2 separate regions of the Homo sapiens genome follow, and region 2 is linked to region 1. Evidence: promoter capture Hi-C in 16 types of primary human blood cells and fetal thymus (Javierre and others, 2016). All regions are on one chromosome and are shown on one strand. The core of a region is centred on a gene start or on the middle of the fragment in contact, and the rest is flanking DNA. Distances in the headings are between cores, read along the strand shown.

What was found. The method cuts DNA at HindIII sites, captures the fragments that hold promoters and counts their contacts. A CHiCAGO score of 5 or more calls a contact.
Region 2: a contact is called between a fragment that was not itself captured here and the fragment with the promoter of BMF in region 1, in 1 of 17 cell types (total B cells). The highest score is 6.0, in total B cells.

Annotation. Positions count from the first base shown.
Region 1 is chr15:40,105,802-40,111,439 of GRCh38, reverse strand. It overlaps BMF (Bcl2 modifying factor), which reads left to right and starts at 2,561. Exons shown (of 5, transcript NM_001003940.2): 1 at 2,561-2,667; 2 at 3,054-3,181; 3 at 5,349-5,638. The coding sequence starts at 5,354. RefSeq lists silencers at 2,504-2,753, 4,238-4,532 and enhancers at 3,263-3,958, 5,529-5,578. The HindIII fragment of the contact is 6,207 bases long and covers 1-4,313 here.
Region 2 is chr15:40,351,939-40,357,576 of GRCh38, reverse strand. It overlaps PHGR1 (proline, histidine and glycine rich 1), which reads right to left. Exons shown (of 4, transcript NM_001145643.2): 2 at 4,310-4,345; 3 at 3,225-3,232; 4 at 1,143-1,504. The coding sequence starts at 4,319. The coding sequence ends at 1,274. Among named protein-coding and RNA genes, the nearest start is that of DISP2, 3.5 kb to the left of the region's middle. RefSeq lists an enhancer at 2,648-3,173. The HindIII fragment of the contact is 613 bases long and covers 1,555-2,167 here.

The DNA.
Region 1 (5,638 bases), core at 1,312-3,811:
TTAAAAAGTAGCTGGCTGTGGTGGTGCACACCTGCAGTCCCAGCTACTTGGGAGGCCGAGGTGGGAGGATCACTTGAGCCTGGGAGATTGAGGCTGCAATAAGCTGTGTTTGCACCACTGCACTGCAGCCTGGGAAACAGAGCAAGACCTTGTCTCAAAACAAACAAAAAGAACCCATTCTCTCAGCTTCTTTGCCTTGTGGACCCAATTTTACCATGCAGGGCTGTGATGAAGCACACAGAGCTTTAGCATCTCAGGTGGGTCAGGAGAGCTACGATGGCCCCAGCCCTCAGGGCCTGTGCTGTCCCAGAGGGCAGATTCAGAGCTGCTGTGGCCTTGAGTTTCACTCTTGAACCGAAGGAATGCTCAGGGGCACCACTGGCCAGCCTGAGACACTGGTCTGATAGGAAAGCAAATGAGAAGAGAAGGATGGAAGGAAGGAGCGGAAGGGAGTCGGTGCATTGGAAATCACGGAGGGCTGCCGGTGCCCTTCACAGAGGCTAGGTTTGGTTTCTGTATCTCCCTACATGTAGCAGGAGTGCAAGGTCACTCTGACCAGCTCAGACATGCACTTTTGGCCAAGCCTCTGGGTAAAATAATATACCTCCTTTTGGCTTAGTGCCTTTTGCTGGAAATCTATCAATTTCGGGGGACTGTGCTACTGGCTAACCTTGACTCCCCACTCTTTCCCTTTTCCCTCTTTGTCCTTTGGAGACAGTATTTTTCTATTCTAGCAACCACAGCCCTCAATATGGCTGGTTCATTCTGTTTCAGGTGACTTCTGAGGGAGCAAAGGAAAGAATGATGGGAAAAAGGTACAAGGAGACTTCAGGCTCTATTGGGCTGAAGGTCCCAGCTCCACTGAACTTAAATCTAAGTTTACAACCCAGAGAGCAGCTCGGTGGTCAGAGCACTGCTGAGCCCTACTGCCCCTGGTGGGTCAGGGTTGTTGCAGGACTGGCTCCCTCTCACTGCTCTCTGGACTCATCATTTTATCTTTCCTAAAACTCAGGCTTGGTCAAGTCACTCATCTCCAATAAAATCTTTGCTGCCTCCCCTTTATAAAATACAGATTCTTCAGTCTGGCATTCCAGGGACACCTCTGTAGTCTGACCTGAACCCACCTGCCCATGCCTACCGTTCGTAAATCTCAGTGTGCACCCAATGATCCAGTCACCAAGCCTCCCTCTGCTCCCTGCACAGGTAAGCTCTCCAGCTCAGCACTTCAGTCTGCTACCCTTAGGCCTGGGCTATTCTTTTTTATTTTATTTTATTTTTATTTTTTTGAGACGGAGTCTCATTGTCGCCCAGGCTGGAGTGCGGTGGCGCTATCTCCGCCCACTGCAACCTTCACCTCCTAGGTTCAAGCAATTCTCCTACCTCAGCCTCCCAAGTAGCTGGGATTACAGGCATGCGCCACCACGCCCGCCTGATTTTTGTATTTTTAGTAGAGACAGGGTTTCCCGTGTTGGCCAGGCTGGTCTCCAACCACTGAGCTCAAGTGAACCACCCGCCTCGGCCTCCCAAAGTGTTGGGATTACAGGCGTGAGACATGTGCATCTGGTTTTCCTTATTGAAAAATATTTCCCATTCAATTTAAAAGCTGTCTCCCTGAGGCCTTCTCCAGCCTTTGTATTCTGAATTTTTCTGCATTCCTCAATAGTCATTATCCTTGGAATGAATACAATTCCAATAACTTTTCACTATTTTCAGGGCTACCTCTCCTAGTAGACTGTAAGCTCCTTGAGGGCAGACGCCAGGTTTCTGGCACTCAGCCCAATATCTGGCACAGAGTAGGTGCTCGGTAAATGCCTGTGAAGTAGCCCATAGACTCCCTTACGCGGTCTGCAGGACATGCTGCTCTCCTGGCAGCACCAGCACAGTCTCTAAATGCTGCCATATGCGAGATATGTGTCAACCGCTCAAGCAGCCCCGGCCTTCTTGAGCGCTCCGCTTCTCAGCCAGGTGCTTATTTTGCCAGTGCCCACGCCCAGTCAAGAAGAGGACCTAAGGGCTCCCCTGGATGTGTTTGTTTCAAACACACCTTCAGCTTTGGAGCTGCAGTTTTCTTCCGACCTGCTCGGCAGGCGGGAGGGAGCTTTCCCCTGAGGCTGGGATCCCATAGGGACCCGCACCCTGCACCCTGCACCCACTGGACGCACCAGCCTCATAAAAAAACTCCCCGCCTCCTTCCCCCCTCCCTTTGTGGACGCGCAGCAATTATTCTGCCCATTGCCGTGAAAAAGAAGACAAAAGTTACTTTGGCGCCCCCTCTCCCACACCTAATACAGAGGATTCAGGGACTCTCTGGCGCTTCCAGAGCCTGTGTTAGGGACAGAATCCGCACTGGCGACGGCGCTCCGACTGCGCTTCTGGCGACGGTCGGAATTTTGCTCGGCCCCTTGCAATGTTTCCATGGGAAGGTTCGTACATTCGTGACCGTCCCTGGCAGCGGCCCAGCCCGGGACTTGGCGCTTCACTCGCCATTGGTCAGTCCTCGGCGTGACGCGCAGGGGGGCGGGGCCTCATCAGCTGTTTGCGGGATGCCCCGAGCAGGCGTATTTTGGAAACAATACCGCACCGTGCGGAGTGGCCTCCTCCCGCCCCGGCCTGTGCCCGCCGCCGCCGCCGCCCCTGCCTGCGCCTCCCGCCTCCTGCCGCAGCCCGGTGAGCGCCCGGGTGGCCGCCGGGGGCCGGGCGGAGTTGGATCGCAGCTCCTTGGGGAAGTGGGGAGCGGAGTCGCGCTGCGCACGGGGGCCCGGGAAGGGTTTGGGCTGCGGACGTCTGGGGTGACCATGAAGAACTGGGGCGCTGGGGTGAGGGAACGGGGTGCAGAACCCACAGTTGGGTGCGCTGCTCCAAGAGGGAACTTGGGGGTAGCATTTGGGACTCGAAGGAGTTGGGTCCAGGTAGGCAGGGGAACCTGGGGTGCACTGCTGAGCAGACCTGGGCGCCCGAGAACGGCCCAGCCTCTGGGTCTGACTTTGGGATAGGACAGGAGCTGTGGGGCATCCTGCCTCTCTGCGGAGTCTGAAGGCTCCTCTCCTTAACAGCTGGGCTTTTTCCCTCCTTCCCAATCGAGTCTGGGCGTCCAGCCCCCGAGTGCTCGTCACGCTGGACCCTGGCGCGGAGCCCTGGCATCACGACTCGGAGGCCGAGACTCTCTCCTGGAGTCACCCAGGTCTGGGGTGTGTGTGTGTGTGTGTGTGTGTGTGTGTGTTCCTAGTCACTGTCGAGGATCTGGGTGTCTGACTACTGCCTTCTCCTAAGAGGAGGAGGAGTCTAAGTTCAGCATCCCTCTTCCAGCCCTTAGGGGTTGGGATGGCTGCAGCGGGGCTTGAGTTCCTTTGCTAGGAATAAAGCATTCCCTGGCCCTGTTCTCAGGAAGTGCCCTCCTCCTCCCACCGCTCTGGACATCACCTCTTAAGCTCAGGAGAAAAATTTCACCCTCTCTTAGTTTACCCTTGACCTTGGCCAGCACCCCTCCAGAGGCGCCCACCTACAGGCAAGCCACCTACAGTTTGTGGAGCGTGAGAGGGGTCCCTGGGGCTTGCAGAGCCACACCTTCTGGCTGCACCTCCCCCACTGTCCAGTCCAGGCAAAGGTTGAACTTTGGGGCTTTGCTGGGAGGGGGAGGGGAAGGTGATAGGCTTCAAAGGAAAAACCAAGACAATGACTCGTGCTGGTGATTGGCTTTGAGGGCCCCTTCTTAGGTCAAGATTGCTAGCCTGAGAAGAGGAGGTTGGAGAGCTGGAGGGGAGCCCCTGCCAGGTGACTGGCGGGACAGCACTTGGTCCTTTCATCAGGAAATTTTGTTTCCTGTTGTTAATAAGCTGGAGTGCACCACCTCACCCCCCTCCCCATACACACACACACACACACACACACACACACACACACACACACTTGGGAAACACGGTCCAAAGAACACCACGTGGCTGCTTGCCATCCTAGCAGGCATCTCCTCATTCTCCAGGGAAGAGGGCACAGACAGGACCATAGACAGCTCAGGGACAGGGATGGGATGGGACGAAGGCAGGGCCCAAGCAAGCAGCTCACAGCTTGTGTTTGGCAAAGGCAGCATTCTGAATTGAACTGAGATTCTTTTAGCTACTTCACCAATCCATAGACCATTTGGCTTGTTCTTCAAAGGCAAGAGACTAGGGGACAGAACCCCCAGGAATCTCTAATTGAGTCTGACAAGAATGAAATTCATCTCTTTTTATCCTTAGCTGTTCAGGTGGTTGCTGCTTCTGGCTGCTGCAGGGGCCCTAAGCAGTTCCTGGTATGTGTAGGGAGCTGGGTTGGAAGCTTAAGATGCTGAGTAGCTCCAAGCTCAGACTTTCAAGAGCCATCAGGTGGAGCAAGAGGAACTTCTTTATCACCAAGAAACTCATATCAATAACTTCAGCAGTATAGGCAGTGAGTGAGGTCACAGGGAGAGGGCTGAATTTCACTTCCTTCTGTAAGACCAGTTGTACCAGTCTCAGGTTCAGAGCTGGCAGGAGCGGGAGGCTGTGGAATCAGGGATTTGAAGTCGTGGAGACTAGTGAGGAGACTTAGTTGGGAGAGGCTGGACCTACCCTCTAGGCCAAACTTTGGTGGGCAGACAGCTCAACTCTGCTCAAAGAGAGCCGAGACGGCAGCTGCAATGACTAGCTTGGGTCTTTATCCCCTCTCCCAGGACACATTCTTACCACACTGCAGAGCCTGTTTGTTGTGTTGTGCAAGCAAGGGGTGGAGATTAGAGTAGATGGGCAGCAGGGCGGGGCTTAGAGGTTTGGAGGGAACCTGGCTGTCCTAGGATTGCTGGCTTTTGTTTTTGCTGCTGAGCCTGGAGCTCAGCTCAGACTGAGATAAGAATTTCCTTGGGACAATGACTCTGTATGTGTGTGTGTGTGTGTGTGTGTGTGTGTGTGTGTTGTGAGCACTGTATGTATAGCCAGTCACAGCACCCTTGACAGCAACTTACAGAGGCTAGTCTTGTTTATATTTTCCCAGGTACCCTGCATGCATATAGCTGCTGATTCTACTCCTGCTATTGCTCACAACCCTCAGAGTCAAACTTTGTGACCGGCCTAGGTCAGAAAACGTGATCAAGAAAAAGGGTGGTTCCAGGCGGGCCCAGGGAAGAGGTGTGGAGAGCCCCTGAACATTCAGGCAGTCCACATTTGGGGAGTGAATGTCACCCTTAGCAGTGCTTTATTACCAGGGTTGTATGTCATCAGTATGTGGTCCGGCCAGCTCAAATAAGAAGGGGGAGTATGGTAGGAAGAAGGGAAGGGGAGTCCTTCCAGGTATGGCCCTGGTGGGGCAGCAGCCCAGATGCCTGCGTTGCCCCCTCACAGGAGAGATGGAGCCATCTCAGTGTGTGGAGGAGCTGGAGGATGATGTGTTCCAACCAGAGGATGGGGAGCCGGTGACCCAACCCGGGAGCTTGCTCTCTGCTGACCTGTTTGCCCAGAGCCTACTGGACTGCCCCCTCAGCCGACTTCAGCTCTTCCCTCTCACCCACTGCTGTGGCCCTGGCCTTCGACCCACCAGCCAGGAAGACAAAGCTACCCAGACTCTCAGCCCAGCCTCCCCCAGCCAAGGTGTCATGCTGCCTTGTGGGGTGACTGAGGAACCCCAGCGACTC
Region 2 (5,638 bases), core at 612-3,111, 250 kb before region 1:
TTATAAGGGTATATTGAGTGATCCCAGATCCTTTTTTATAGTCACCGCTGCCCCCCCACCCCACCTCAGCCTGGGAGGTGCCCAATAGCCACTGACTCCAGGGCACTGGGAGGTGCCCAATAGCCACTGACTCCAGTGCCACCTCCCCCACCAGGGAGTAGCTGTGAGTAGAGCACATTTGGGTATGATGGACTGTGGACAGGCCTGGCTAAGGGGTCTAGAACTAGAATAGATATTGGCAGTGTGAGAAGCCTGGGGGGCTGGGAGTGGAGAGGATCCTGGATGTGGGATTTGACTAGGCAGAAAGGGTTTTACAGCAAGCAGGCTGTTCAGGGCCTGGTTACTTGTGCAGGGAGAGGCCTTGGTTGAAGACATGGGGCTGAGGAGAGAGTCAGGAACACTTGGACTATAGGTATCCCTAAAATGTGTGCCAATGCCAGTCCGTGTAAGACACAGGTCATAAGAAATGGGGTGGAAGAATCTAGAGGTGTAGAAGTGTTGGGTCTGCCCTGAATAGCTTATAGTTTGGTTGGAGAGATAAAGGGCCAGCCCATAAATTGCTGCCAATAGGCAAGATATGGTGAGGCCCATGAGGTGGTTGAGAAGGGGACAGTATGCAAAAAGGAAGGACCTCTTTCTTCCTAATAGGCCTTAGAGAAGGCTTCTTGGAGATGGTGGGGCTTCAGCTGGCTTGGAAGAAAGGGTGGGCTTTGAAATGTGGAGGTAGGAGAGAGGGAAGGCCTTCCTGACCTGGGGTGGGGGCATTCTTCCTTACCTGTGCAAACAAAGGTAAGGGGGCTGGAAAGTTCAGTGTATTTTAAGGGAATGGTGAGAAACCATCTGGATTGGAGGGAGGCTTCTGGTCTGTAGAGTGAGGCATGCAAGCTGCAACCTTGGAAGGCCCACCAGATCTGGATGTACAGGATGGCATAGAGGTAATGAGGCCACACTTGAAGTTCCTCGATGGGAGGGCACAGGAGTGAAAAGGAAAGGAGAGGTGACCTTACACAGCCATTTATAGTGAGCACCATGGCATTAAGCTTCTGAGAATGCCAGGATGGTTGCCCCATCTTCACAACTAGGGAGCTTGGAGACAACTGGGTCCTCTGACAGCCAGGTTGGATATGAAGGAAGACAGGCTCTTTAAAGAATAGAATGTGGCCTCTAGGAGGCTGTTTATTAGGAAGAGAAGATTGTGGTTTAGGCCTCATTCCAGGTCAGCTGGGCAATTCTCTCAGGCTTGCCATCTTGTGTCCTGTTTTCTTCTACTTCCTCAGTGATGTGGACCAGGGGGTGGGTGACCTGGGCCATGGCCAGGGGGAGGCCCGCAGGGCCCTGGACCATGGTGGGGGGGTGGCCCGCAGGGCCCTGGGCCATGGCCAGGGGGTGGCCCGCAGGGCCCTGGACCATGGTGGGGGGGTGGCCCGCAGGGCCCTGGGCCATGGCCAGGGGGTGGCCCGCAGTGACCTGGAGGATGGCCATGCCCCCCACAGTGGCAGTGCCCCTGTGGAAAGTCAAATGAACAATGTCAGAGTCAGAGGTCAGGGCTAAGCTTACCTGAGATCAGCTCTCCCTCACTCCACTTCCCTGGGGGACTCAGGATTTCTAGGCAAGTAAGGAGTTGCGGTGGAGGGCTGGGGGCATGGGTAGCATGTCCCGTGCCTTTTGCCTTGGTGAGGCCAGAACACTGAGCAGATAAAAGGCAAGCAACCTAGATTTATTGGTTTCTATTCTTTGAGCCAAGATATGACTCCCGCTCCCTGTACCTCGATTTATTTTATTTGCAACTAAGAAGCAGAATTATTTCATCTTCTCCTTTCTCTCACCCAGGAACCCTTGCAGAGTGATTAGAGGCTTTGCCATGCTAGGAACTGCAGGCTCATTGTACTTAGGAGCAAGGGTGAGGCTAGAGGAGGCTACAGAAGAGCTCTTTGAAGGCCAGGGGCAGGGGGAGACAGGAGGCTGGGTCAGGGGAGATGAAAGAGCTGAGGAGGGGAAGAAGGAAGACAGTTGGAGGATGAGAAGACACGGAGGGTAGGAGGTGGCAAGGTGAGGATGTATGTATTCTTTTTATAGGTAGTGTGTATGTGTGTAGACGGTGTGTGCCATATTTATATAAAATAGCTATGTTTGTGTACGTGTGCATGGGTGGGTTCATATTCAAGCTTGGTATGTACACAGATACGTGCATGGAGTGCATGGTTCTGTGTACATGAGTATGTGCGAGCTCATACCTGTTCCTGAGCGGATGCCAGACCCAAGAAATCAGGAAGAATAGAAAGTAAAATCAAAGCTTTTCTGCCTCAGTCAGAAGAGGTCTGGAAAAAGTGTGGTTTAACCTTCCATCTTGGCTGGAATCATTCCTGAAGTCCCAAGGCCAGGGGAGTTTTTTGTTTTTTTTTTGTTTTTTTAACTTTTTGCCACAAGCCCAGGGGGCAGGCAAGAGATACCACCTTGCTTCTGTGGTAGGGGACTCGGGGTCTGGGGCCCTGTGGAGCAGGGCGGGGCTATGCTCCCACTGTCTGGGCTGGATAACTCCCCAGTCTCCTTCTGCCTCCTAGGGCTTGATTAGGGCTTGGTACCAGTGGGGAAGAGGCAGGCTCCAGGGCTGGGCGCTTTCCTGTGACCATGGTAGAGCAGCCCCTGCCCCATCCAGGCTCAGTGATGCCTGGAAACAGCCACTTCCCACCCCACCTGCCTCTCTGCCTATGGCTCTTTTGTTTGGGGGTTGGCACACAGACCAGGCCTAGGAACTGAGTCTGCTGGTGGTAGCCAGTGGGTGAGAAGAGGTGGAGGAGACGCAGTCTCCTTTCTCTGGCAGGAGTAGGTCCTAGGGGCCCCATAGTGTGGTTGGAGTTTGGGAGCAAGCCAGCTATCCAGCAAGGCTGTGGGGGTAGCCAGGAAAGCAGAAAAGCATAGCACAGGCGGGGAAGCAGCAGGAGAGAGGATGGGCTGCTAGGGCAGGGAGGGGACGTGAGGAAAGGAGAGAGACAGATGGGAAAACAGAGGAGAGAACGCCAAGAAGGCTGCAGCCAGCAGGGGGTGGAGGAGTGCAGCGCTGCCCACCCCACCCCCACTCCACGGGGCTGCTGCCTGAGCCTGCTCCCTTCTTTTCATTTGGGGGAAGTGGTGGCTGCTCCCTGAGGGTCTAGGAAGGAGGCTAGGGGTCTGGAGGACATGACAGTGGGAGGAAAAAGGGGAGACCATTGGGGGAACTTTCCTACCTTCGGACCTGTGGGAGAGGAAGGGAAAAAAAAGAAGCAGCTTTGGTCATTTGGTTCTGCAGTAAAAAAAAACCTGTCTTCTCCCTGGCACTAAGGATTTTGTGCCCACACCCCTAACCCAACAGGGCCTCTCAGACATGGTCACTTGCCTGACAATCATTCCTTCATTCATTCTCTCAGCAAAGATACATATTGGAAGTCAATATAAGGTTCAGCAGTGTGTCCCTGTGTGCTCAAGGGCTGGCTGAGTCCTCCTGGGTGGAGTGGCGCCAGTTAGGAGGTATGGGTTCTTGTCTCAACTCTGTCAGCCTGGAGGTGCTCCATGGTGGCCAACCCTGTCATCCACCTGATTCTTGCTTCTACCTCCAGGCCAGCAGCCCTGCCAACCTCCCCATCTGTCCTCTGCCCCTGTCACGCCCCACGTATCTCGGCCCAATCTCTGCTCAGCCTCTCAGAGCTGTTTGTTGTCTCCTGTTTATGACCTTCTGTTCTCAGCTCTTGGCCTTTGCTCATGCCTCCTCCCACTTGGAAATCTCCCTGGAGCAGCTGCGTGTTGCCCTCATGCAGGAAATCCACATGGGAGCCATCCAGGCTGCCCAGCTGTGGGTCCACTGGGCTCCTGCAGCACCCACCTGAGTGGTCCTGCATGTTCTGAAGTGCCCCATTGGTGTGGGAATCACCTGCTACTTCTTAAAGGCTAGGACGGTCTTTTGTTCATTTCGAGGGAAGCCGATGGCACAGCTCCCAAGAACTGGATTCTGGATTCCGACCCAGCTGCACCTCTATGGCCTTTCCCTGAGCATAACCCCTAGCTCCCCTGGGCCTTGAGTGTGCGGTGGGAGAAGCACCTACCCTTAGAAGCACCTAAGAACATGATGAGTAAGCATGCTTTTTAAACTGTAACATGTTCTACAGTATGTAAGGGCTTGTCTTCATTGTGGACCCCTACCACTGCCTTCATACAAACACACACGCACGTACATTTTTGGCACGCACTAGTTATGGCTGACTGATAGTCCCTGCCTTTACCGCTCTCCTGCTCTCTCCCTTCTTCCAATTCCCAGCCTCTCAGCCACAGTGCTTACCTGGGTCCATCTTTTTGGAGTAAGAGCAGGGAATACCTGTGTTCAAAAGGTAACTTTTAATTTACTGTAATCTAAATTGCAGTCTTTCCTTTCTCCCTCCCACGGATGCGCGCGCGCGCGCACACACACACACACACACACACACACACACACACACCCTTCAAAGGAAGAAAGGGAAAAAACTGCTCCCTCCGGCTTAGCTTGGCCCCAATATAGAGCTGGCACTGTAGGTGCCAGGCATGGGGGTTAAATGGACACAGCGGGTTCACCTACATGGTGGGTAGATGGAGACACAACAGCACCATGTACCAGCCCCTACACCCCATACTCTTACACTTGCCCCCCTAGACTCAACAATTGTGTGTTAATCCGATTCCTCTTGGGAAGATTTCAATATCCGTTCATTTGCTAATTATTCATGTTGTGTGTCTGCCCTGTGCCAGGTCATGGTATGCTTGTCCCTACAGACTCTTGTCTTGTGTAAACATCTGGCATGGCATGGGAGCAGGAAGCTTGGAGCTATCAGTGTGCCCAGTGCAGGGACGGGAAGGATGGTTTGCTAGGACAGGAATGGGGTTGGTGGCCCCTGAGGGCACAAGTGAATGGATTTTTGCCCTGGGGCTCAAGTGAATGGAAAGCCTTCCATGGGGTCCTAGCTGCTTGTACCTGTCTCCTCCCACCAGGATTGGAAGGGGGTGGGAGCTTGGAGTCTGAGCCAACTTGTCATTCACCAACAAGCCGTGCTGTCATGAGATGGAGCTGCTGAGGTAACGTGGTGCCAAGGCTGGCCATGTCTTGCTTGGGGCTGGCAAGTCACAATGGACAACCCCAGAATGGGCCCAGTGAACATACAGTACATTCATTTTTTTTCAACCCTCAAATGGGAGTGTAGTATGTGACGTCAGGAGCAAATACTTGACATCAGGGCTTTCTGGTACTTACAAGTTTGCTGAGCATACAAAAACAAACAGCGCCCCCAATACAACAACCCTAGCCTCTTGCAAGACACAGCCCCCTGAACCTCTTTTTTTTCTAGGGAGCCTTAGTGCCTCTTTAAAAGTTTTTTTGAGACAGTCTCACTTTGTCATACAGGCTGGAGTGCAGTGGCGTGATCACAGCTCACTGAAGCCTCGACCTCCAGGGTTCAAGCAATCCTCCCACCTTAACCTCTGGAGTAGCTGGGACTATAGGTATGTGCCACCACACCCAGCTAATTAAAAAAATTTTTTTTGGCTGGGCACAGCGGCTCATGCCTGTAATCCCAGCACTTTGGGAGGCCTAGATGGGTGGATCATTTGAGGTCAGGAGTTCGAGACCAGCCTGTCCAAT